7 separate regions of the Homo sapiens genome follow, and regions 2, 3, 4, 5, 6 and 7 are each linked to region 1. Evidence: promoter capture Hi-C in 16 types of primary human blood cells and fetal thymus (Javierre and others, 2016). All regions are on one chromosome and are shown on one strand. Each heading gives the region's core, a stretch centred on a gene start or on the middle of the fragment in contact. The rest is flanking DNA. Distances are from core to core; before and after follow the strand shown.

The links. Contacts are between HindIII fragments. The CHiCAGO score rates a contact against its expected background, and 5 or more counts as called.
Region 2: a fragment that was not itself captured here is called in contact with the fragment with the promoter of ARGLU1 in region 1 in 1 of 17 cell types (fetal thymus); the score reaches 7.2 in fetal thymus.
Region 3: a contact is called between a fragment that was not itself captured here and the fragment with the promoter of ARGLU1 in region 1, in 1 of 17 cell types (fetal thymus). The highest score is 8.0, in fetal thymus.
Region 4: a fragment that was not itself captured here is called in contact with the fragment with the promoter of ARGLU1 in region 1 in 4 of 17 cell types (fetal thymus, naive CD8 T cells, monocytes and 1 more); the score reaches 10.8 in fetal thymus.
Region 5: a contact is called between a fragment that was not itself captured here and the fragment with the promoter of ARGLU1 in region 1, in 2 of 17 cell types (total CD4 T cells and naive CD8 T cells). The highest score is 6.7, in total CD4 T cells.
Region 6: a fragment that was not itself captured here is called in contact with the fragment with the promoter of ARGLU1 in region 1 in 1 of 17 cell types (fetal thymus); the score reaches 7.8 in fetal thymus.
Region 7: a fragment that was not itself captured here is called in contact with the fragment with the promoter of ARGLU1 in region 1 in 1 of 17 cell types (fetal thymus); the score reaches 6.0 in fetal thymus.

Annotation. Positions count from the first base shown.
Region 1 is chr13:106,566,034-106,569,586 of GRCh38, reverse strand. ARGLU1 (arginine and glutamate rich 1) reads left to right here and starts at 1,450. Exons shown (of 4, transcript NM_018011.4): 1 at 1,450-2,014. The coding sequence starts at 1,668. RefSeq lists enhancers at 1,309-1,378, 1,389-1,508, 1,184-2,094 and a silencer at 1,989-2,288. The HindIII fragment of the contact is 1,462 bases long and covers 736-2,197 here.
Region 2 is chr13:104,579,591-104,583,348 of GRCh38, reverse strand. No RefSeq gene overlaps it. Among named protein-coding and RNA genes, the nearest start is that of DAOA, 880 kb to the left of the region's middle. The HindIII fragment of the contact is 3,554 bases long and covers 219-3,758 here.
Region 3 is chr13:104,759,701-104,763,649 of GRCh38, reverse strand. It overlaps LOC107984606 (a long non-coding RNA gene), which reads left to right. Exons shown (of 5, transcript XR_007063859.1): 4 at 2,895-2,942. Among named protein-coding and RNA genes, the nearest start is that of DAOA, 700 kb to the left of the region's middle. The HindIII fragment of the contact is 906 bases long and covers 1,270-2,175 here.
Region 4 is chr13:104,777,485-104,781,536 of GRCh38, reverse strand. All of the region lies in intron 3 of LOC107984606 (a long non-coding RNA gene), which reads left to right. Among named protein-coding and RNA genes, the nearest start is that of DAOA, 690 kb to the left of the region's middle. The HindIII fragment of the contact is 1,576 bases long and covers 1,667-3,242 here.
Region 5 is chr13:108,219,913-108,223,731 of GRCh38, reverse strand. The region is part of intron 1 of ABHD13 (abhydrolase domain containing 13); the gene reads right to left. Among named protein-coding and RNA genes, the nearest start is that of ABHD13, 3.4 kb to the right of the region's middle. The HindIII fragment of the contact is 2,711 bases long and covers 1,197-3,819 here.
Region 6 is chr13:104,816,270-104,820,185 of GRCh38, reverse strand. The region is part of intron 3 of LOC107984606 (a long non-coding RNA gene); the gene reads left to right. Among named protein-coding and RNA genes, the nearest start is that of DAOA, 650 kb to the left of the region's middle. The HindIII fragment of the contact is 418 bases long and covers 1,548-1,965 here.
Region 7 is chr13:104,865,368-104,869,021 of GRCh38, reverse strand. All of the region lies in intron 1 of LOC107984608 (a long non-coding RNA gene), which reads right to left. LOC105370342 (a long non-coding RNA gene) reads right to left here. Exons shown (of 3, transcript XR_931691.3): 2 at 1,284-1,429. Among named protein-coding and RNA genes, the nearest start is that of DAOA, 600 kb to the left of the region's middle. The HindIII fragment of the contact is 3,163 bases long and covers 55-3,217 here.

The DNA of each region.
Region 1 (3,553 bases), core at 201-2,700:
GAGAGCTAGCTTTCCCCTTCTATCATGTGAGGGCACTGTGAGTAGGTGCCTTCTGTGAGTCATCTGTGAATCTCTGGGTCCTCACCAGCGACCAGATTGGCTAGCACCTGGATCCTGGATTTCCAACTTTCAGAACTGTGAGAAATAAATTTGTTGTTCATAAGCTGCCTAGTTTATGATATTTTGTTACAGCAGTCAACACAGACTAATACACTACTCTTCTTTGTTTCCAAGTTTTCTTGATAATTAATTATGTGATCTTCCATATAAAACTTAAAATTAATTAGTTCTAAAACACATATCCCCAAGAGAATTTGGGACTCTCATGAGAATTGCACTAATTTTGTAATTTGACTTGGGAAGAATTGACAGTATTTTTGATACTGACTACTCACCTAAGAATACAGCATGTTTTACATTTACTAGGGCCTTATTACTGCCTTTTCAGTAAAGGTTTATAATAAAGATTGTGTAACTTGTTAAAGTTTATCCCTAAGTATTTTATGGTTTCTGTTGCCATTGTGGAGGAAATATTATTTCATTTTTAATATGTTTTTGCTTATTCAAATAATTCTAATTTTTCTTCTACTTACTTAAGCTTTATTATTGCACTCAATTTTAAAATTGAGGCACCTAGATTTTCAAGGGTTCCTGTCATCTGCAAATATTAACATTGCCTTTTCCTTTTAGGTCTTAACAATGACACAGTTTGTTGTGCCACATAGGGACGAAGCTTTTCGTGGCTAGGGTTGAGGAGGGCTTGCTGGTTATGTGCAAGGGCTTTGCACAATATGATCTAGGTTCACGTCCCTGCTCTGTCACCTACTGGTTGTGTGACCCTTATTTAACCTCTGTGGACCTCAGGGTCCTCATCTCTGAAACGTGGATAATAGTAGTACTTAATTCAGAATTGTAAGAATTAAGCACTTGTTAATACATTAAAGCATTTAGAAGGCACATTAAGCCCTATAGTAAGCATTAGGTTACATTCATCAAAACCTGCTGCCTACTTACCTCCTGCAAGTCTCATAAGCACTTCAGAAAGTGTGGTGTCTCCATTCTACGAATGAGGAAACTAAGTCCAAGGCAGCAAGTGATGAGTGCAGGGTCACTTGGAGATACATTTTAGGGCTGCCCCACAAGACCAGCTCCTAGAAAATAATGCAATCAATCAACTTCTGCGAGGCCGGACTTAAATCCCACTAAAACGTGCTTAATTCATTCAACAGGCGTTGGCATCTTACCAGGGAGGAAAAAAAAAAAAAGAGTACGCCAAGGCGAAAAGGAGAGTCTCCATCTATTGCGTCTCAGGCTTCCGCCAAGACTGGCGGAAAAAAACGAGTCCGCTCCGAAGCGCTCGCCTGCCTTCGGCAAAAATCGTCAGGAGGCGGGGCCCACGCTTCGGCACGTTTCGCGCAGGGCATTGTGGGAAGGGCGGCCGGTGCAGCCGCAGCTGCCATCTTAGGGGCGCCTGGCGCTACGGGTTTCTCGTTGGAGGCGGCCTTCGTGGCAGCTGTAGACGCCGGGAAAAGGCATAAAGTCCGTTGGCCGACACCTTTCTTTCCTCCGGCCTCGGTAGAACCGCCAGCCCGCGTCCGAAGGCGGAGGCGAGGGGAACTGGCCGCGTGAGGGGCCTGAGGCGAGCGGTTAGAGCGTCTCCCGGAAGGATGGGCCGGTCTCGGAGCCGGAGCTCGTCCCGCTCCAAGCACACCAAGAGCAGCAAGCACAACAAGAAGCGCAGCCGGTCCCGGTCGCGATCCCGGGACAAGGAGCGCGTGCGGAAGCGTTCCAAATCTCGGGAAAGTAAACGGAACCGGCGGCGGGAGTCGCGGTCCCGTTCGCGCTCCACCAACACGGCCGTGTCCCGGCGCGAGCGGGACCGGGAGCGCGCCTCGTCCCCGCCCGACCGCATCGACATCTTCGGGCGCACGGTGAGCAAGCGCAGCAGCCTGGACGAGAAGCAGAAGCGAGAGGAGGAGGAGAAGAAAGCGGAGTTCGAGCGGCAGCGAAAAATGTGAGTGCCCGCGCGGGGAGGGACCGGGGCGTGCGGAGAGCAGGGCGCGGGGCGAGGGCGTGGGGCCGGGGCGGGACGGTGCGGGCCGGGAGAATGGCGGGGACGGTCCGGGGCTGGGGACCGGGCGCGGGAACGGGTCGGAGAGGCGGCGGCGGGGCGGGCAGGCTTGGCGTTTGGAAAGCTTGGGGTGGGACAGACCCAGAAGTTGTTCGGGATGGAAAATTCGAGGGCTTGAGCAGAAAGGGTTTAAGAGAAGGCGATTTTGGCGCGAGAGAGGAGTGGTGTCCCGGAAGTAGGGGTGGAGTTCGGAGTGAGGTCGGAGAGCTGCGTTGGCTTGTGAGGCCGGGAGCGAGCCGGCCTGCAGATGTGGAGGGTGGTGAGCGTTTGCTGGTCGGCTTGAGGAGGAGAGAGAAGGGAATTAACCTTTGAGATGCGAATCACAGCTGGCCAGAAGCATTCTATTGAAGCTCAAATTTGGGACAGGACTTAACTAATCTCGGGAATCATACACTTTAGGTGGTCCGCCAGAAAAATGCATTTTCACTTTAGTGTATTCCTGTTGTTAAGGTGTTGGGATTGCTTTTTTCCCCTTGAGCCTACACCCTCACCCCTTCCTTGAGATGTTAAAAAAAAAAAGCATAGACCTTAAGTGTACAGTGCGATGAGTTTTTTGACCTTTGAATTCACCTGTGTAATCACCATCCCAAAGCCTACCGCTTTTTTAACTTGCTTTCTATTCCTGTAGCAAACACGTGCAGTTTTGTTGTTTCCCTTACACTGTGCTTCTTCAGAAGACACTTGAAGGGTTGATTTTATTTTGGCGTTGCTCCCATGAAGGATATTTAGTGAAAACTAGAGTTAGAGTGTGTTTCCGAAAATGTCAGCTCTCAAGTATTTCTGGCTATGAAAGTAGATGTGGATAAATAATCCCAAACTAAAGGAATTTTTGGGTTTTAAAATTTAGGGATTTGTTGTGTGTTTTGCTTTATGATCATCGTACTTTGATGCTCTGGGTATTCAGTTTCCAAAAACCGCATTGAAAAGTAGATTTGAACAGTCCTACTAACTCCCTATTGAACCAGCCGTACTTGGTCAGTTCTTCAGTGAATATTTAGAAAGTGCTCATGAAGCAAGAACGTTACTGAATTTATGATTTTCTCGAGGCGAGTATATGTGTGCTGAATTGACTGCGTGGTTTGTAGTTTTCTGTAGTTGGGTTTGTGTTAGGTAGATTTTCCAGCACACACACACAGCTTGTTTCTAAAACCAAAGTTACTAAAAGGTAGGACTGGAGCACTAATATTACAGAGGAAGCTGTACCTGGAGCTGTTTTGCTTCCAACACTCCTTTAAAACACATGCAACACTCATTTTTCCTGTACTTAGAACTGTCAGTGATACATATGAAAACAAAGTTCAAGTAATCGTTTCAAATTAAACCTTGATTTTGTAGAATACAACTTTTGGGTCTGCAACAAGGCCCTTAGCTGTAAAGATCTCAAATAGCTATCAACAGATGGATGTATGAAAAGTTACCTAA
Region 2 (3,758 bases), core at 746-3,245, 2.0 Mb after region 1:
AAAAAGTTCCATGATCATCTGGTCTGGAGAAAGTGACCATGTTCTGACACTATCATGTCACTCTTGCTTACTCTTTATGACACTATGACTCTGAAATATTATCATTCATGTATTTATATACTTATTTATATATTCATGATTATATATATATATGTCTTCCCCCACTTATATGTCAAACATATATTATTCATATATTATATGTCTTGCTCCATTAAGCTTTACTAACACAGTTTTCTTTTGTGTTTTACTTAACACTGTTCCCCCAGGGTCAAAATATGGTAAGTATTTAAATATTTGTTAAATTGCATGCACTTTTCAGTTCTGGTGGTGCCCTCTTTTGTAAAATGTGATATAATGCCTCTACATTACAAAATGATTTGTAAAGATTAGCTTTGTTTTGGAAGTGCCTACCTCAAAGAGATGCTACAGAAAATGTAACTAGTATTTCTTATTTTCCTACATCCTGCTCACATCTTTCAAATGTATTTTCACTCCTAATCTGTCAGTGTCTTTACATTGAAGTGCAATAGATCTTTTGCAGTTCTAATAAAGTTTTGCTAACTTTAATTTTAATATAAATGATTTAAAAGAATTTGCAAAAGGAAAGAACTACAGGGAAATGTCTGTTTAATCATAAGTATATTTTAAAAAAAAATTAACCTAGTATTCTTAACAATTTTCCCAAAAAGCACATTATATTAATAATGGTACAATGACTGCCAATTTTCAAAGTGGTTTTCCATATATTTCCATAAAAGCCACAAAAGCACAGTGAGCAAGTAAAGCCAAATGATATCATCTCCATCTGACGTCTAGAGCATAGTGCTTCATAATATAATGGGGCTTTCTCACTATTCACAATAGCAAAGACATGGAATCAACTTAGTTGCCTGTCAGTGGTGGATTAAAGAAAATGTGGTACATATACACCATGGAGTACTATGCAGCCATAAAAAAGAATGAAATCATGACCTTTGCAGCAACATAGATGCAGCTGGAGGCCATTATCCAAAGCAAATTAATGTAAGAACAGAAAAACAGATACCACATGTTCTCACTTGTAAGTGGGAGCTAAACATTGGGCACTCATGTTCATAAAGATGGCAGTAATGGACATTATTATTGCCATTACTACTAGATTTGGAAGGGAAGGAGGGGGGCAAGGTTTGAAAAACTTCTTATTTGGTACTACGCTTACTACCCAGGGGATAGGATCATTCGTACACCAAGCCTCAGCATCACACCATGTATCTATGTAACAAACCTGCATATGCACCCCCAGAATCTAAAATAAAAGTTGAAATTATAAAAACCAGAGGCTTTCTGTGGGTCACCAAAACATTTCCTTGGGAATCTGTGACTGAAACCCATGTTTGCTGAATTCTCCTTTAGTACTCTTTTAGGCGGCATTAAGATCCCTGTTTTCCTTTCCTAGATTTTTTTCCTCATGCTCAGTTAATCTCTCCTAATTCAGTATTTCATTGGAATAGTTGGCCATCTTTCTCCCTATTGCCACTATTTGATTATGGGCTCATTGTCTTCTTCTAGCAGCTTTTGTCTTAAATAAATAAGACATTGCATGTGTCCCAAAGAGCCGCCCCATCTCCAAAAATCTCATGGCCTTCCAATTTCAACTTTCATCACTGACTAGCTGATGAACTCTCTTTTGCTTAACACAAACTGTCAGTTGAGTGAATCCAACCTACCCTTGGGCCAGCTGTTCATTTCTGGTCTACACTGCGTAGAGAAGTGGGAACATAGAGCACTTTGTTCTCACTACTCCTGGATATGTGAGCAGGGCTCCCTGGGGGTAGCAAGTACTGACTCTACAACCAGGTGTTGCTTTTGTGTTTAATACGTGTCAGACACACTCTTAGGCACTGGAGATCTAGCAGCAACTATAACCAATACCTCGTTATGTTTATGAAAATTTCACTCCAGAATAGGAAGACAAAAAAACAAATGAACAGATTGTCAGAGAGTCTAGAGCCTGGAGGTGATGCTAGTGAAAGTAGTTAACAAACTGGATTAAGTATCTTCAAATATTAAACTCAAGTCTGGGAGGTCAGATATGCATGAGGGTTGGAATCCTAAAGTCTCCATGCAAGTGTTAAATGCAAACAGATAAGCACCGTGGAAATTATGAGGGAGGGAGAGCTAAACCCAGCTTCAGTGGTCAAGGCAAAGTTGGATTTCAAAAAAGGAAAGTTCCAGATAAGTTAATCATAGGTGAATGGAAATTCTTTTCAAATTGTTTCTCAAATCAGAATTCTCTTTGCTTAGGCAATAGCCATGTCTTACACATAGGCTTCCAATGACCTTTGTAGAGGGTTGTGGATTTGAGCAGCAAGTTCGTAGCCAAAAATATGCAAGGTATATTTGATGGGCAAAATGGGTTCATTGCCAGAATAAAAGGAGATGAGACTGGTGGGGTAAAGAGCAGCAGTGTTTAGAAAACACTTTCACATACATCAGCCAATTCACTTTCACAATAATCCCTTGACAAAGAAGATATCTGATCTGAAAGGTCGGAGGATGAGATTATGTACTTAATCTGTTTTCCATTGGGAAAACAATGGACGGATTCTGAAGAAATAGCACCTTTATGTTAATGGGAAGTCACACATCTGTGTCTCAACCTTTATTCTTGAACCCAATCTCTTATCTCCAGTGTCGCTTGTCCTTGGCTCCAGAGTCTTCAGCATATTTTTATTTATGTATTTATTTTTTTTAAACCACACGGCAAAGCACCCTCCTTGCACTCCTCAGCTGAACTTTCCCTCTAGTTTGGATTCCCACATCTTCTCATCTCTGAGCTGTCTCCTGAAGTTTCTTCAACGAACTTTTCCTCTTCATTTTGTAATCTGGCTTTTTCTTTTTGTCCTATTTCAGTTCCCTCCTCACACACAGAAAAGTTCTCTGATCATAAGAATCCTTGAAGAGCATTAATAAGCATTTAAGATTGATATAACACAATTCAGGTTATGTCTCATGTTTTCTTTATTTTCCATTTCTTTGGCAGATTTTATTTATTGTTATTGCCAGATTTAGCTTTAGAGAGCCCTGTGAGTAAATGTCATAATTAATTCTACTTCACACTTATTTTTACAAGTGAGCAGAAAGTAGATACTCTAAAATAAACATTCGCTTAATGTATGAAAAAAACACAAGACAAAAATTGATTTATGAAATTTTTACATCAAGAAATCTTTAAAAAGTCAGCTTCATTAGAGCATGTAAAATATGCTTATGAAATAGAGCAATGCAATGATCCCATAAGGCAAGACATACTCACACTAAAGTTTCCGTCATAGCTACTGTGACGTCCTCAGGAAACCAAACTGAAGGGAAGATCATTGGACCTTGAATGGAACATCACAATCACTCAGAAAAATGGGAGTAATAATTATGCCAATTTCCTAGGGTTTGGGGAGGAATAAATCAAATACTTTAGGTATAGTGCTTGGTGCAGTGCTGGCACACAGCAAGAAGTCAGAAATCCAGCAAGATGTTTAATTAGAATAAAAACCAGCAAAGAGTTAAATGTTATAGGTATGTACTTGGATAGTATTTTATACCAAGACAATATTATACTATATTTTATTATAATTATATATATATATAATATATAACTATAGTTATATACTATCTATATATATACTACATATATTTTACTATAGTAAAAATATTTTACAATATTAACAAAATTTGATGTTTTATATCTTCCTTTACCCATTGTTCTCTTTTATTCTTTTTAG
Region 3 (3,949 bases), core at 473-2,972, 1.8 Mb after region 1:
GGCTTTACAGGAAGTGTCGTGCTGGCGTCTGCTTTTGGTGAGGGCCCAGGAAACTTCCAATCATGGGGGCAGGTGAAAGAGGAGCAGCCATCTCACATGGCAAGAGCGGGAGCAATGGCAGGGGAGGTGCCAAACACCCTTAAAGAGCCAGATCTCACGAGAACTCACTCACTATTGTGAGGAGAATACCAAGCTATGAGGCATCCACTTCCATGACTAAAACACCTCCCACCAGTCCCCACCTCCAACACTGGGAATTACATTTCAACCTGAGGTTTGGAGGGGATGAATATCCAAACCATATCAATAGCACTTGGCTTTTAGAGTAGTGGTTTATTTGAAAAGCAGTTTACTGGGAGTTTAGGATGTTTTTCCAATCCAACTGTGCTTCGAGTAACAACAGGTAACTGAATATAAATTTAGCTGGGTTCAGGAATCAGTGGTCAATAGTACAACCAGAGTAGTCACAATCCTAGCCCACTCAGGTTAAGAGCTGGAAATGTAAAGAATACTTGTCACTCAGCCTTTGGGGATTTGTTCTCCTGAACTCCACTGAAGGCCTTGCGGTAAGAAGAAAAGCAGAAGTTGTAGTCCGAAATAGAACAGTCTACCACTCTCACAGGTAGTAGCATTGGCACACACAGCAGCCATGTTCCTGCGACAGGTGGAATGTTAACAGATACCCCAGAGCATGAGTACAATGGCTGGAATCTTAGTAGTCCAGTTACCAGATATCTGGGATATCTCTATCCCAAGAAGGCATAGATGGATCTTTATTTATACTGCTCCCTGGGAAACGGGGCTGAAACTTGCTGACTTGCCTGACTTTCAGCAGACATGACCTAGGGTATTAAGAGGCATGTCTAAGCTTACCTGATAAAATCTGATGTGGTGTATTTTAGAGATACAAAAGAATGGCCGAAAGTTCACAGAAATGGCTTGCCTTTAGCTTACCATGTAATTTGCCAACTAATACCTTGACACGCCCCACAGAGGTCACAAGGCGTGTCCTTAAATAAGCAAGCTAGAAAGGCCGTGCTTCCCTACACGAAATGTACTGATTGTCTTAAAAGGAGTAAGGCAAGGAGAACAATGGGGTAGCTGTCATGAGAATATGCCATTCTTTGACAGAAGTATGAGCAAATTCACTCAGACATCTGAGCAGGCTCATTGTTACGTATTTTCAATCAGGACTTAAAAAGCTATTTACTGTCTATAGGATCTTGGCAGTCAGGAGTAAAGAATGTAGGCAGATAATTTAATAAAGCTTGTAGAACTCTAGCTACCATTGCTTCCTACCAGAAATCATGCTTCTCTGCCCATGACATTTAGATTTGGGCAAAATGTAGTCTCATTGTGTGGCATTTCCACCGTCCTTATTACCCTGTGCAGCAGGAAGGATACAACAAAGCTATGGGTTTTTAAAGACTAGGCTTCTTAGAAGTACTGCACAGGCAATCAGCATTTACAACCAAGGAAACCTTCAAAAGATAGAGTCAGGGAAAAGGAATTGTAAGGCTAGAATCAGCCTCTACTTTTTTTTTTTTTTTTTTTTTTTTTTTTTTTTTTTTTTTTTTTGCAAGATGGAGTCTCACTCTGTTGCCCAGGCTGGGGTGCAGTGGCACGATCTCAGCTCACTGCAACCTCCACCTCCTGGGTTCAAGCAACTCTCCTACCTCAGCCTCCTGAGTAGCTGGGACTGCAGGAGCCTGGCACCACGCCTGGCTAATTTTTGTATTTTTAGTAGAGACGGAGTTTTGCCCTGTTGGCCAGGCTGATCTTCAACTCCTGACCTCAGGTGATCTGCCAGCCTTGGCCACCCAAAGTGCTGGGATTATAGGCATGAGCTACCGTGCCCAGCTTTATTAAGTAGGTGCTGCTGGAATGGTGTGGTGAAGGAACTCTATGTTGGATTTGTTTTACGTATTCTGAAACAGCTTTTCCACACAGGAAGTAACTACAATATTTCTAACTTGCCCACAGAAACTTAGATAAATTGGTTGAATGTAACAAAGTGCTTCCCCGTGAAGGTGTGAACATGTCCATTTGAGCTCCAGATTTGTGATCCATGAGACAAGAGGTGGTGGCAGTGGAGAGTGTTCTAGATCCAGAGTATCAGGCAATAGTGGATTCAATGAGATATTAATGGAAGTGTAGGAGCCATTTAGCAAAGCTTTATTTGCCACCAAATCCAGGGAAAAAAGAACTGGCATGATTAGCAACTCCTCTCTGCAATCAACCACAGGAGGAAGAATAAAAAGAGATCTGATCTCCCCAATTGAGAGATTAAAGGACACAGCCCTGGGGACAATGAATTAGGATTGCATATGTAGGTATACACAGGTATTATCTGTGTATTGAGGTAAGTTAACATCTGGATACATATAACTCTAGCTGCCCAATATGTTGCTCAGAAGTACCCAAATGAAAGTAGGGCAAGAAGAGATCAGGCTGGCTCAGGGAAGCCACCTTCCTTCTGCTTCTAACCTTACTCTTCCACTAATTAACTTCTTGTAGCACCGGAAACAAAACGGCAGATGCTATTTTGTTTTGTCTTTCCAGAATTATCTTAGGAAACCAAGGAGAGGAGAGTGACATCATCCCCTCACTCAAGAGCATCGGTAGTGTTGACTAGGAAATTTGATTGACTGGTTCAAAGACTGACATTCAGTGCACCTTACTCTTCAAGGCGTTAACAGTCCAGGCAGAAAGAGTAGTCAGAGCTGCCTCTCCTGTCACTCTAAAGGCTATGAGTCCTGAATAGTTATTGCTTAATATTTTAAGCACACAAACACCATGGGCAGTAGACATTTGAAGCTCATCTTATGAGGTAATTTGGAGAAAACTTGAACTGTTTTCTTTTCTCTCTTCTCTTCACAAACTTATGGCTCCAGCACTAGAACCTTCCAAGTGGAGGAATGGAGAATCTAGTGGCACATGTGGTGAGTAAAGGGATCTATCATTCAATTGTAATAGAGTTTAGTAAAAATTTTTATTCAGTCAGTATATATCCTATGGTAGAAACATGGTAATATAGAAAGCCAGCCCTACTTTAGAGCAGTAATTGCAACCATATTCTAGTTTTCCGGGAGTGGCACTCTCAGATAATTCGAGACACCAAAAGAGGGAGTCTATTTACACCAGTAAAAATATTGACATTGCTTATTGGCCACCTGTGACTAATCAGTCTTAATGTTGTTTATGTGAAATAATATTGTTCTCTAATATGGGAGGCATACCTCTCATTCCAGAACCCTATGTTAAATTGCACAAAAGAAACACTGTACCTGGATGAACAGGTCCAGGAGTAACACTGCAGCTAAGTATCAAAATCAAGGCATTCACACATCCCCTTTTGCAATGAAGGGAACAGCTCACATAGTGGTAAAATTCCATAAGGATAGCTAATACACTGTGAGGGTCTGAACAGCTCACCATTTCACCAGGAATTGATGGAAAGTGTAAAATATATTTCCAAGCCCAGAGACCCTTGCTGGCTCCTATCCCTCTGAAAGAACTACTCCACTCCGTCTCACTTGCCTATGCCTCTAGAAACCTGGAACCAAGTGAATGGGCACCAATACTTCTAATAACTTGGTCATACCTAATAGACTGAAAGAATTTTCCTCTCATGGCAGGTACCACAAATTGGTCTCTAGATATATAAGGAAAATTGGAATTGGAACCACTAAAACCTATATATATATACACACATATATATATGTAACTATATATATACATATATGTATATATATATACATATATATACAGCTTGAGTAAAAATTATACTCATTAAGCTATATATATATATTTACCTGAGGGATGGGTTACAAGCTGATCCTAAGATAATTTAACAAGGGGCTATTTAAAATTTATTTTGGGATCAGGGAAGAAATTACTAAAAAACAAGAATACTTTAAATACACAATTTCCATTGAAATGCTGGGCC
Region 4 (4,052 bases), core at 1,205-3,704, 1.8 Mb after region 1:
CCATTCCAGCCACCCAGCCATTTCCACCACTCAGCCATTCCAGCCACCCCGCCATTTCCACCCAGTCAGCCATTTCAGCCACCCACCCAGCCATTCCAGCCACCCAGCCATTTCCTCCACCCAGCCATTCCACCCACACAGCCATTCCAGCCACCCAGCCATTCCACCCAGTCAGCCATTCCAGCCACCCAGCCAGCCATTCCAGCCACCCAGCCATTCCAGCCACCCAGCCATTCCACCCAGTCAGCCATTTCAGCTACCCACCCAGCCATTTCCGCCACCCAGCCATTCCAGCCACCCAGCTATTCCAGCCACCCAGCCATTCCACCCAGTCAGCCATTTCACCCAGTCAGCCATTTCCCCCACACAGCCATTTCCACCACCCAGCCATTCCAGCCAGTCAGCCATTTCAGCCACCCACTCAGCCATTCCAGCCACCAACCCAGCCATTCCAGCAACCCAGCCATTCCAGCCACCCAGCCATTCCACCCACCCAGCCATTTCAGCCACCCAGCCATTTCAGCCACCCACTCAGCCATTCCAGCCACCCAGCCATTCCACCCACCCAGCCATTCCAGCCACCCACTATCTCGTCTGGGTTACCGCAACATATTCCTACCCTGTTTCACATTGACCACTGCTCCCCTGATGACTGTTTGCCACTGAGAAATATAAATCTGATTATGTATAATTTCATCTTCAAGTATTTTGATTCCATTTTAATATTTCTGTGCTTAAATGCCTTATATGATTACATTTGATGCACATCTCCTTTTTTTGCCAACCTCTTATAATCTATATCCTATCAATTCTGCATTCCCTTCCATTCTTCTTATTTGAAGAAGATATTATCTTGAAGTTTAAAGGAGGTTGATTTTAAACAATTTAAAGATTTATCTAGGTAATATGTGTTGTCGCCCGAGGTGGTATAGATTATTTTTTAAAAATGTGGAGATTCATAAGAACCTAAGCATTAGAGATAGGGATAGTGGCTCACAATAATGGCAAGAGGTATAGTATATACTAATTTACATATTAGTAATGCTTTCTTGATTGCAAAAAACAGAAAAATAACTCTTACTAATATTTTGGCGGGAGTGGCACAGCAGTAGCTCATGGAATGAAAATAAGAACTCAGTGAAGCAGAAAGCTACTGAAGAAACCAAAAAAACACTAGAAAATCAGCAGTAGGAATGTGTGGATTTTGCCTTGGAAATTCTGCCGTTTCTGAGACTCCTCATAAGAGACACCAGGCTTTCTCTCTCTCCATTCCACATCTCTTAAATCTGGGGATGAGAACTTGATTGTCATAGCTGGGAGCAAGTGTGTGCCCCTGGGTGAAACAGCGAAGTCCATTTGACAGTGCCTTAGGGCAGAGACATGGACACTGGCACCTTCATACTCATTTGTAACTGAGCCATCTTCAGAGGACTCACTTGCATCGAGAAATACCCTGATTGGGTCTATCACATGAGTCAATATTTGTCGAAAATTTGTGTTGAGAACAAGAACTGCGCAGCATTGGTCTTGTGCACTTTGGGATTGAACGAATAAATGACGTTTTTAGAGTGTGCTTTAGCAAGTGATGTTGGCAGGGGTATCATATTACAAGAGTTTAATTAAGTATTCTCATTACCAGCTGTTGGAGAAGAAAAGTGTAAAAGCTTTCTTTTGCTACACAACAGGATTTTTTCTATGTGTATTCAAGATGATTCATAATATAGCCTGAATGGACAAGAGGAACCACAGTTTTCTATATTGCATTAGAGTGAACATGTAATTTCTTTTATATTGTAAAGGGATATTTGAACGGGGTCTGTAGATTGTTTCTGCCTTCCTAGACATGGATTTTGGCCTTTGGCATGCCCACCTGCTAGGGCCACAGTCATCAGCTTGACACAGGAAATGTGGGACTGCTGAGTGATACTATTATAGCTTCTTGTTTGCAAGCCCAGCCTGCCAGTCCCCCGCCCCCCCACCTATTTCTCCAAAACCCCTTAACTGGAAGCTACTTGGGAGCTTTTTGTTATTGAAAGGGCTCTGAGAATATAAAACAGCTGGTCATTTCTAATGTCTTAAAGATGCACACATGCTCACTTTTTATTTAATGTCCTCCTAGTAATTTGAGCAGATGCTAACTGTGCTGCAACATGAGTCAACTGAAAAGTATGTATCTCAATAAGATTTAAAAAAATAGGAAATTTACATAACTTTTTTATAAACCAAACTAAAAATACATATACAAGTGATTGTAGAAACCAGGGCGATTTCACCTAAAAGCAAATGCTTAGTGAGAATTTAATTGCATTTACCTGATGTCCTTCATAGTAAAACCTGTTTTTTTTTTTTTCAACTGAAATAGGGGAAAGTCGTTTTAACTATGTAAATGGAGTGTCCTCAAATCTAATCAATTTGCAGTGTGACCAAATAATCTGTTGCATTGCCAATTCACCAAGGTGTTTCAGCCATTTGGAGATCAGGCAAATTATTTCAAATATAATCACTTAAAGTGTTTTAGAAGGGATGTAATTAAATGGCTTCAATATAAGAAAAAATATGTACTGAAACAGTACATTGAAACAAAAGGAGCATATATTTACTTGATTTTTTAAATGAGCTAAATATCAATCACACTACATTTTTACAGGCTTACAAAGGTGCCTAAAATAATCATTATCTGACTTGCAACTTTATGTGCTCATTTTTTAACATGTCTTCTAACATAAGCATGTCACCTAGACTTTTAACATTGCCTCACTCATTTTAACATTGCCTTTTCTCTCATTAAAACACTGACATTATTAAAAATCTCTACTACATAGGCTTCTGGGATCCCTGGTATGAATACCCATTGCTTTCAGAGAAAGAATCAAAAATAAAGTCATGATTATAAACTTTTTTTTTCCCAGTTGCTCTGTATCTAGGTCCTCGTAAATATAACAGTTGAATAATGTAGGATTACAAAGAAATCATCATATAGCATCTGAATTAAAGAATGTAAAATTTAGATTTTGATGTGGCTATGAGTAGCATAAAAATAATAATAATTAAAAAAATACCCACTATTTTGAACAAGACAGAAGTTTCCTTTATCAAATGAACCTAGTTCTGAAGTTGCCATACCAGAGGTATGGATGCAGTGTGGAGTGGCAGAGACCTCGGCTTCTCCAACCATGTCAGTTTTTTAATGCATAATTTCCACTCCCAAGATCATCTCATGATTGGACATGGCACATGAAGCTTTGAGTAATCTGACTACACAGTAGCAAATAGTGAGAAGTGTACATTCTCTTGGTTTATCCCTATTGTTCAGACTACTTATACCACTCATAGCTACCAGAACATTTGGAAAATGTACTCAAGTAGTTGCCTGGGGATGTGTTCTTATACAGAAAGGTACCAAGAGATATTGAGTAGATCCGCCTAATTCTCCTCATCTCCGTTTTACTCAACATGATACACATTGAGCTTCGTGATGCTCCATTCACTGTACAGAAAAAAGCAAATTTAAAATATAAAAGTCCTGGCCAGGTGTGGTGGCTCACACCTGTAATCACAGTACTTTGGGAAGCCGAAATGGGCAGATCACTTGAGGTCAGGAGTTCGAGACTAGCCTGGCCAACATGGTGAAACCCCATCTCTACCAAACAATACAAAAGTTAGCTGTGCATGGTGGCAGGCACCTGTAAGTGCCAGTTACTTGGGAGGCTGAGGTGGGAGAATCACTTGAACCTGGGAGGTGGAACTTGCAGTGAGCCCAGATCACGCCACTGCACTCTAGCCTTGGTGACAGAGTGAGACCCTGTATCAAAAAAATAAAATAAAAAAAGTAAAATAAAATATAAAAGTCTCAGTGGGACAGAGAAAGGAATGATAGGGTGGAGCATTGGAGCTATGGTCTGTGGAGCCCAGTGCAAGGTTTCTGTTTGCAGAGGCTGGTTTAGGAGAAGTACATTGCTGTATTTTAAAGCATCGACTCTAAGTTACTGAAAGAAGGCTTTTGTCTCTGGCTCCATCACGGAGCAATGAACAAAGGCTTAAGTTCCTTGACT
Region 5 (3,819 bases), core at 1,303-3,802, 1.7 Mb before region 1:
AAGATCAGTATTATGCTCATAATAATACTAAAATATCATTTACTTTTTTCACTGTTTGACACTTGCACTAATGATGCATAAGCAATGATGGGTAAAATTGCTGGTGCCTTTGTAAGAATCAAGGTAGTGGCCTCACGTGTTGGAGTCACTGTATTCTTTATCACCATGAGCTCACGGTAAATGAGGGAATAATCCAGTTTTACTTAAGAATGTCAAAGAAGAAGCAGTAAAAATTATTTTATCTCAACTAACAAGTACACATCTTTTTAACACATTGTGTGACAAATGTGTGACAACACTGGAAGTGCACATAAAGCATTTTGTGCTATGTATTGAAATACATTTGAATTGTGAGCTGAACTAGCTGCTTTGTTCAGGTAACAACATTTTTATTTAAAAAGACAACTGACAAACTATGGTTGTTCAGACTTAGAGGTTTGGCAGATATTTACTAGAAAATGAATGAGGTTGCCAATAGCTCCTAGACACTTAAGGGACCTTTTTGATGGCACTGTGGTAATCTATTAATATTAAACATGTCACCATTTGGAAAAATCTGCATAACTCCATAAACCAATATATTCCAAATGACCAATGAATGGTGTCACAAAATCAAGCAAACGTGAGTAAAAAATTCACTACAAACCAACAGATTTTGATGTAACAAGAGACAACAATTTCTCTGATGTAGGTTTCAGATGGCACAATATAACTGACCTTTAAGGAAGTGCCTCCTGTTGGGTGATGGAGTCGTACCAACGAGTACCCACAATTCTCTACTACAATACTCTTCCCTTTACAACTACAAATTTGTGTGAGCCTGACTTTCTTCATGTTTCACTTTAAGAGCCTAATAATCTGCCTGTCTTCTATGAGGCAGACATTAAAGATAATTACAAAAATATAATCCCACACCTCTATTTTTTGTAATTACAATTGTTTTATATAAAATTTTATTTATGTGAGTATGTAATGAACTTACTACTGCTATTTTTAAATGAATTAAAACTTCCAGTTTTCCAATTTTAATTTATACACTTTATAAACTTCCAGTTTTCCAATTTTAATTTATACACTTTATAAACTTCCAGTTTTAATTTCTAACACAATAAATATCTATATAATCCACATACATACAAAAAAATCTTTGGGATCTTTACATTTCTAAAATGTAAACGGTCTGAGACCAAAAAGCTTGAGAACCACGGTTCCATACTATTTAACCATATAACTGTATTGCCTTATGCCCCAGAGACTTGCCTTCTTCAAATTAAGAAAGATATATTACATTTTTTTAAATCCTTTCTGCATTATAACATATATAAATATATTTAAGGTTTTTACCCAGTAATATTTTCTCCAAAAACTAAAAATAAATAAAAACTTATATATATCAAGAACTGAAACTCAAAAGTATAGGAGTAAATACATTGTAATTATTGCCGTAAGGTTAGTAGGAGAATAAATTAGACAAATCTATTGTATCATAGATAACATTTTACAATAAAAATTGTATTTTAATGAAGGTCAGAACTGCCCTACAAATTAAATTCTAGTTATTCTAATTATTTTTAATTAAAAAGTGTACATTGGGCCAGGCATGGTGGCTCATGCGTGTAATCCTAGCGCTTTAGGAAGCCAAGACAGGTGGATTGCCTGAGCTCAGGAGTTTGAGACTAGTCCGGGCAACATGGTAAAACACCGTCTCTACTAAAAATTACAAAAAATTAGCCGGGCATGGTGGCGCGTGCCTGTAATCCCAGCTACTAGGGAGACTGAGGCATGAGAATCACTTGAACCCAGGAGTCGAGGTTGCAGGGAGCTGAGATCGTGCCACTGCACTCCAACCTGGGTGACACAGTGAGACTATGTCTCAAAAAAAAAAAAAAGTGTACATTGTTTTGCATATTGTATATCGAGTTACGGATTCTGCCACCAGCAAATGGTCTTTTAAAAATACAAAAAAGTGCATTACCCATAGTGAATTACAATGAATTTCCGAAAAACAATTTGGCAAAAGGCTAAACAATTTCAAATACAATTAAAAAGTCCTAAGTCATAAAGGCACTATTATTTCTTTAAAGATCTTTAAGTCCATCCTAGATTGATAATTTTGGGAACAGCTTGTTTAAAAATAAAAACTGTTCATACATTTAAAAAAAATGTGCAGGTTCAAGTGAAGACTGTAAAAAGTGGAAAGGGAGTTCGTGTGTCAATGCCGACATCCACATCCCAGCAGAGAATGAGGACCCCACACCCCATGGGCTCATTAATTACTCTGGGTGAATCACAGCTTCCAATCACATGTGAAGTAATGTGGAACTCAGATTCAGTATTCTTATATCAATCTCTCTCCTCTTCTGTTAAGCATTGGGAAGTTAAGAAACCATGCCAGCTGCACAGCTGAAATGGAAACACAAATAGCTGCTATCAAGGTGTTGGAGACACCACAGAATGAATTATCTATTTCCCTAATGGTTACCCACATGCCATCAATAATGAAAAAGTGTGTATTAATAGTCCTATGGGACAAATGAACAGTAACTGCCTATGGAGATGCTGGATAATAACTGGATGGTTCAGACAGCATCTTTAACTAGGATTTAAATCTGTATGAGCAGATAGCTCAAAAATTATACCAGGCAGCTACTTAGTAGCTTTTTCATGCTTGAAAATCTTGGCAAATAGAGTCAACTCTGGCAGAAGTAAAATGAGAGATTATTGTTACTATGGAAGCCAACCACAATTTGTTCTGAGATTATAAATATCTGAAATGTTTAAAACAAATCCACTAGCCTAAAACTGTAGTGATGTTAGACTGATAATGAAATTCACAAAGTTTCCAATTTATAAATGGGCAATGTTCTAAAACTTTACCTATAAACTAGATGGATGAAACTTAGAATATTTGTTTTGTATAAAACCAGTGTTATATAACATTGAGTATGTGAAAGTAAGTACAACTAGAAGCCTTACTAGAAGTATCTAGATTCTCAGGCTAGCTCATAAATGCATGTAGTCCCTGTACTGGAAATACTACATCTTTGCAAGGGATTTCAGCAGAATATACTGTTGTAGGAGTTCACACCATGTGAAACAGAAACATAAAATATAATAATGTATTACAAAATCTGTCATTTGAGGAAAAATATCTTACTTAGAAGAACTAGAGCATCTTTTAAGTCCACACGAAAAAAGGCTATTTAAAGGTCTTAAGACTTTCCTGGGGCAACTAAACAAGGATTAGAAAGATTTCAGAATCTGGGTAATACATTAAACAGAGAAACAGAAATAGATTCCCCTGAGATAAGTTATGAGAAGAGATCATGGGAAAATGTTAGATCCAACAGTTTCCTGCACCTATCACTAAGTTATATTGTTAGCCCAGGGCAATTTGGTTAGTAAACCCTCTTATCCACATGCCAAGAGGTCTTTGATGTGCCCAAGAAGAGGGCAGTGTGCCAAGGGCTACCTGTAGGTACCTGGCTTGCTTTAATCATTCCAAGTTAACTGTCAGTGGGAGGCAGTGTGGTGCAATGGAAAGGAGACAGTGTTTTGAGTCATGGTCTGTTAAGAGATAGGTAGCTTTTGCCAACTCACTTAGCCTCTCTAAATATATATTTCCTCGTATGTAAAAGGAGGATGAAAGATTAAATTGAACTACTGTTGAGATAAAATGTAATAGTGTGTTAAGTGCAGCTACTTCTATGAGACAAAATTTAAATTACTTAATTATGTACTATAGCAGAGTATGTGAAAGTAAGGACAACTAGAAGCCCTATTAGTCCTAGATCAAATAATGGATATGATTCCCTAGAG
Region 6 (3,916 bases), core at 507-3,006, 1.7 Mb after region 1:
TGCCACATTGTCTTAATCCAGCCTATCATTGATGGACATTTGGGTTGGTTCCAAGTCTTTGCTATTGTGAATAGAGCCGCAATAAACATACGTGTGCATGTGTCTTTATAGCAGCATGATTTATAGTCCTTTGGCTATATACCCAGTAATGGGATGGCTGGCTCAAATGGTATTTCTAGTTCTAGATCCCTGAGGAATTGCCACACTGACTTCCACAATGGTTGAACTAGTTTACAGTCCCACCAACAGTGTAAAAGTGTTCCTATTTCTCCACATCCTCTCCAGCACCTGTTGTTTCCTGACTTTTTAATGATTGCCATTCTAACTGGTGTGAGATGGTATCTCATTGTGGTTTTGGTTTGCATTTCTCTGATGGCCAGTGATGGTGAGCATTTTTTCATGTGTTTTTTGGCTGCATAAATGTCTTCTTTTGAGAAGTGTCTGTTCATGTCCTTTGCCCACTTTTTGATGGAGTTGTTTGTTTTTTTCTTGTAAATTTGTTTAAGTTCTTTGTAGATTCTGGATATTAGCCCCTTGTCAGATGGGTAGATTGCAAAAATTTTCTCCCATTCTGTAGGTTGCCTGTTCACTCTGATGAAACCAAACCTTACTGGAAGCAATAGCAAGTCTCAAGAAGCCCACTGTCAGGCTGATTTAATTGCCATCATCTCTCTGTTCCTAGGATGCTTCACTCTCATGTCTATTATCATCTAGTTAGTTATATAATTATCTTTCTTGTTCTATCAATTGAGTGGAAAAGGGACATTTTTCACCACTGATTTCTAAGATCAATCACTCGGCTTGGGGCACAGTGGTGACAACTAAATTATTCTGAATAAATAATTGAATAAATCCAAGAATGCATGCATGCATGAGTGTGCTGACACCATACTTGTTCTCATAAATGACAGAAAAATAGGAAAGAAAACGTGATATGAATTGGAAAAGCTCGCAAAGAATGTAACGTCCTCTGATAATTTCATGGGGCAGTAAAATAAATTTTAAAAAGTTCAGAATGTAGAGATGATTTTTCATTATCTTCTCCTGAGAAGTAAGATAAGTAAAATGTCCTTCATTCCTCATTCCTAACCTAAATTAGGAGGTTAAATTTTTGTATCTTCTGCGATTCTGAGAATCCCTGGGCCCCAGCGTGCATATGCTACAGCTTAGCAATAGGACGTGGAGCTGTTTTCTTGGGAGAGAAGGAAGATGGGCTACAGGCATCCTGGAGAGGCTGGTACGCTCATCTTACTCCTCTGCCCTATGGCCGTTTTCGTCGATTCCCAGCCAGGTTGTTGCAAAGGACTTTGTATCCAGACCCATACTGTATGAGAAAGGAGGGCACATTGCTCACCTAGAATGCATTTATTATTATAATTATGATTTTTCTAAATTTATAGAGACACACCATCTTAATATTTATTAAAATGGGAAGTCTCAGACAAGGATACAAAATAATAACCAACCTAATGTATCTTAATAAATGTTGTAACTGTTTTTCAGAAATATAATTATTAAATGCATCTAACTCATCTGGATAAAAAGCTTTTAGAGGTATAGAACTTACCTTCCTGGTTCTAACTTACTTCTTCTGTTTAACTGTTTTTGCTAAATATGTCTCTACTTACAGCCTGCCAAATAGAAACTGTCCTTGGTCTTCTTATCTTCATTACATGATAAACTAACCCTAAGTCATCTTTCTGCAACATGTTTTTTTGTAATCTTTACAGTAACTTTTGGCATGGTAAATTAGACCGTGTTTTCATTGTTATAAGAAAAACCGAGTTAATTTTACAGACACAAATATGGAAAACTTTATAGATAAACAGTTCAGAGAATGAGCTATTTCTGTTTGGGCTACTGAAAAATGACACTTAAGGAAAATACCATTCAGATAAAGAATAAATGCTCATTTCAAAATTTGTCTTAGATTTGAGGCATGCTATTCCTGTGTACTGAGAAGCTTCTGTTAGTTAAAACAGTGAAACTTGTTTTCCATTTCCAATAGCTAGTTATTTCTTATGGTCTAAAGTTGAATTTTTTTCAGGTTATAATTTTTATTTATGAAGTTGTCAGAGGTGTTAATAAGGAGCCATTAATAAAATTCCTGTCTGAAATTGAAGACTTAGCAGACTAATGGTTGAGTAGCAGCAAACACATTCAACTGGACTAAGTTAAAAAATATGCTAAAGTTCCTTCCCTCAATTAGGGATACAGAACACCCAAGGCTTAAAGTGGGATTACAAAATGTATACTTCTATGCCAAGACCAACTCTAATGCAGGATCCAGATTTTTGCTAAAGTATGTCTTGTTGTGGAAAAGGAACATGCACAGGCTTCACTACAACTTACTCAAAGGTTAATGTTTCTTTTTGCTGTTGTTATATTGGTAGTATAAATTTGCTTGATTTCCCCCATATGTGTGTGTGTGTGTATATATATATATATATATATATATATATATATATATGGGGAAATTAAAACACATATATGTATAGATGTGTCTCAATTTCAACCAGAAGCTGTATGAATGTGTGTTTGTATTTTTCTGGGCTGTAAAGGAGTAAGAGTATATATGTTTATGAGTCTCATGAATTATAGTAGTTTTAAATAAATTGTTTACATTATGGAAAATGAGTATTTGGGCAACATCCAGCTGTGAGCAGTTTCTACAATCACAGCTTAGTGACCACACTACGTGGCTGATAGAAGGGACATGTTGGCATCGCCATAGCCATTGTGGTCCAATGCATCAGCAAACTTCTGCACAGGTGTCCACCCTTCCCCTGCTGTGCATGCTGCGCTGATTGCCTAGGCAGTAGTCAGAACCCGAGTCTTGACTCTGGTTTCCATGGCTCTTCATACTGGATGCACTCTCCCCAGCAATTAGCCTGTGTTTGGTTCTCTTTCCACACTTTTGACTTCTATCAAATCAGATTATTCCTGACCAACTACTACTTTGCCAATGCCAAGAAATAGATAAGGTACTAACTCTAATAGGTTTTACAGCTGTTAATTCTATTGGACTACATGTATATGACTCGGGCATTCAACCTTCTGGAACGTACATCAAAATCTACAGATAAATAATTTTAGGGGATTTTTAAAAACAAGTATAACGCATTCTTGACTGTGCTAGGGAACCAAATCAATTGAGGAATGAGTGAAAAGGAGAGGGAGGGTGACGAGGAAATCAGATGTAAATGGAAAAAATGAGAAGGCGACTAGAACAGGTGTCAGAGAAAATTACATTTAGCCAAATTATGTCAAGAATTTGGCAGAAGGACAAGAGGAACAAAACCCTGGCTATTAGTCATTTGTTTTTGGTAGCAATAGAAACAGGACTAGTGTTACACCAAGAGTCAGTGTCTTAAACCAACTAAAAGAAATGACATAAGCTATTTATGTGAAATTAATGAGCAATATTTGTACCCAAATAAAAGAAAAATGAAATAAAACAATCCCCTCAACAATACTGAGATACAGTACAAGGGTTTCCTATGAATACTTGTCATACTACTTACATCGATAAATTGCAAATGGAATTTAATATAATGAACATGTTCAATTAGTGAAAGTAAATGACCTAGCACCCAGGGTTTTCTTAATTAGAAGGTTTTTATGCATCGTAATGCTTTAAATTATCTTTGGTACAATTTGGAAACCTTAAAACCAGATTGCAGTTTTGTGAACACTTTGGCAGAAAAAAAATGATTTTGTCATTGGATTTTTTTTTTTTTTTTTTTTTGAGACAGAGTCTTGCTCTGTTGCCCAGGCTGGAGTGCATGGCATGATCTCTGCTCACTGCAAGCTCCAACTCCTGGGTTCACACCATTCTCCTGCCTCAGCCTCCTGAGTAGCTGGGACTACAGACACCCGCCACCATGCCTGGCTATTCTTTTTTTTTTTTTTTTTT
Region 7 (3,654 bases), core at 387-2,886, 1.7 Mb after region 1:
GGGCCTCTCAATTCAGCGAAGCTGGGTGTTCTGCTGTAGGATAGTCCCCAAGCTTCTCAACACCCACTCACTCAGAGAGAAAAGGACACAAATCATCTGAAATCTGGCATATTATAGAACATTCAGTAACAGTTCCATATGTGATTGCTGAATTTTTAGTTTTTTAAAATTATTTCCATTTGATTCATTTTCATTTGTTTTCTGAAAAATTAGAGAGATACCCATAAAAAAGCCTGTCCCACAGGGGACTTGAGGCTCAGATATAATCACTGCTGCACTCACTGAGTATCAGTCACTCCCGTTGATATTTTAAAGACTTTAATCTTTAAATTAAATATTTGAATTATCTATTTTGTTTCATTTTATGAATGAGAAAACTGAACCTCAGAAAGGTTAGGTAAATCCCTTAGGATTATAAATGTGAAAGCTATGGTTGAAACCCAGTATTATCAGACTCTAAGTACAGTTTGCTGTTTGCTCCTTAAATACACCTTCATAAAAAGAAAGATGTCCTTCACACTATGTGCATCCCCTCTCTGGAAATTAAATTCAGAAATGACTAGATTATGTGCCAAATACTGTATGGTAATGGTTAAAAACAGAGTGACCATTGAATAAGCATGACTAGAAAAATTAGAGCTGATAATTTCTCAAATCTACAGAGAAAATTTCAGATCATACTTAGAAAATAAGACATAAGTAAAAGATATTTTAGCACAAGTATATTTGCTAAAGCAAATTTTACTTTAACAGAGAGAAACTTATTCTGCATAATTCATAGAATTCATAAGGAATTCTGCTTGTTTTTAGCTATCTCTTTGGCTTTTGTCATGAAAGCATAATTAACTATAAAAAGAAAATTTCCGTATAGCATGTTCTATGAGAACCTGAAAAGAGAGCATTAGAAGATTGTCACACCAGAGATCTATTTTAAGACCATTTATGTAAGACATCCCAGATAATTATACTGTAGAAGGTATCTTTTCCTATCTTTAGGCAGCATTTTAAGTAAGAAATGCAGAACAAAACCATCAAAGTCAGTAGAAATAAAATGCGATCACTTTTCACAATGATTCTTGGAGAAACCACATAATGGCTAAAGCAGCCTAAAATTACTTGGGATAGGTTAAATAAAGTAAACATGGCTTATTAGATTTCCATAGAGTTAATAGTCTACATAGTCTAATGTTTTATAGACAAAACCTCTGTCATTCTGTTTTATAGAGTAACTCCTACCTCATCACTTCCAATCACATTTACTGCATTTACTAAACATCACTAACCTGTCAGCTGTTAATCGTCTAGTCAATGAGCTAGTTGAGTGGGTTATCAGGTGATTCCAATTCAGAAAGATAGCCACTCTCCATGAGAACATGACATGAGAACATGCTTCTGTCTTGTCTCTAATTCTGTTTTGCCTCCTTGAACACTGAGTTAAAATGGAAAGACATTGGAAATGATATCTTGTAGAAAAAAAAACTCACATGTACAGATAAGAGTATCTCTTTCTAATAAGAACAACTATTCCAAAACTGCATAATTTTGAATGTTACGTATGATGAAAACTCTTGTTATGGTGATGCTGCTATGATTCATTTAGAAGAATTTGTGTAACAGGGACCACGTAAATTTTAATGCTCAGAGAATCTAGGCATGCATGATTTAAGATTAATTGGACAAGACAAGGCTATATAGAAGATAAGGCTATAATGTCTTTATTCTCAAGAACATCTCTGATGGACTAACCAAAAAAGAATAAGGCTTCCATAGATCAGATTTAACCAACAAAAATATAGAATGTTTAGTTAATCATGTTTTGGAGTGATGTCCTAAATCTTACATATGGCATATTTATAGTAAAACATGTGATATGGTTTGGCTGTGTCCCCACCCAAATCGCACCTTGAATTGTAGTTCTGATACTCCCCATATGTCATGGGAGGGATCTGGTGGGAAGTAATTGAATCATGGGGGTAGTCACCACCATGCTGTTCTCATGATAGTGAGTGAGTTCTCACAAGATCTGATGGTCTTGGTCTTATAAGGGGCTTTTCCCACTTTGCTTGGTGCTTCTCTTTCCTGCTGCTGCAACAGGAAAAGTTCCTTTGTCTCCCTCACAGTGTGTGTGTGGCTTGCTTCTTCAGTGCCCCGCTGCTCAAACCTCCAGGGGAGCATACAGATGGGCAGACTGTGGGGCTCTGACCCCACAGCAGTGTCTACAGGTGAATGTTGATAGCTGAGGCCCCAGTGGGTGTGTGCTACAGGGTGCTCTTTTAGTTCAGCCGTCCGTAGGCAGCTTGTGTTTACCAGCTTAATTAGACCCTCTACTTTGTTGCAAGGACAGACGGCTTTCTGTATCCCGGGGTTCTTGCCTTGGTGTACTGGAAGAATCAGAACACGGGTGGGCTTGGGGGATGAGTGCAAGGTTTTATTAAGTGGAAGTAGCTCTCAGAAGATGGGAAACCCAGAAGGGAGATGGTTTTCCCATGGAGTCAGGCAGCCAAGCGCCTGACACTTCTCTGACACCTGCCCCCCAACAACTGCATAATTCCACCAGTAAATGGCCTGCCTATGTGCTGGCGTCTGTCAGTGGGCTCTTCTGCCAGCGTGCTCCCCTGGACATTCTCCTGACGTCCAGCCACTTGTGTCTTCTTCCACTGATCCACTCCTCCCCACGTCCAGCCGCTTGTGTGGCTGCCTGCTAGGTTCTTGAGGTTTTTATAGGCACAGGATGGGAGCATGGTGGGCCAGGGTAGTCTTGGGAAATGCAACATTTGGGCATGAAGGCACGAGTGACTGTCCTCACCTAGGTCCGTGGGCATAGGCTGGGGAGGAGCCCTCACCAGGGACCAAGTCCTTCCCTTCCCAGCACTTCCCTGCCCGCCTCCTCTATCACGCCGCGTGAAGAAGAACGTGTTTGCTTTCCCTTCCACCATGATTGTAAGTTTCCTGATGCCTCCCCAGCCCTGCACAACTATGAGTCAATTAAACCTGTTTCCTTGATAAATTATCCAGTCTCAGGTAGTTCTTTATAGTAGTGTGAGAACAAACTAATACAACATGATTTGTTGTTTATATGAAATTTAGATTTCTCTAGGTATCCTGCATCTTCCATGTCAGCCTTAGGTTCAAAGTGAGTTAGCAGAATCGTGGACATAAACTAATACACCCCCAGGTTCCAGGTCCATAAGCTCACTGCACGCAGTTGCTATAAGCTTTCTGCATTGTTCTTTACATAAATACTTGTGATTATTACTAGCCAGATAACCATATAAAAGCCCAATTCTTTATTTAAAATATTTTTCAGATATTTTAGAAATAAATTATATTCAAATATATAATAGGACTAGGAGCAATTATGTTGGTAGATTTAAATGGATAAAAACTCAAGGGGAAAATTAGACTTAATTTATTGTACTTGTTAACAAAGTTACTTTGCACAATAAATCCTTCAGAAATCAGGTCTGTTCTTTTAGTGAGGCATTTTGTAAACACTTACATGGACATAGTGTGAAGTTTTATTCCAGTTCTACTTCTGATATTAATTTATAGATATTCAGCTATCTTATTATTTAATGATTTAATCTTTTTTTTTTTTTTTGCCTTTTCTCTATCACCTATCATTTTACTATTCGGAATTCATTGTTATCTCCA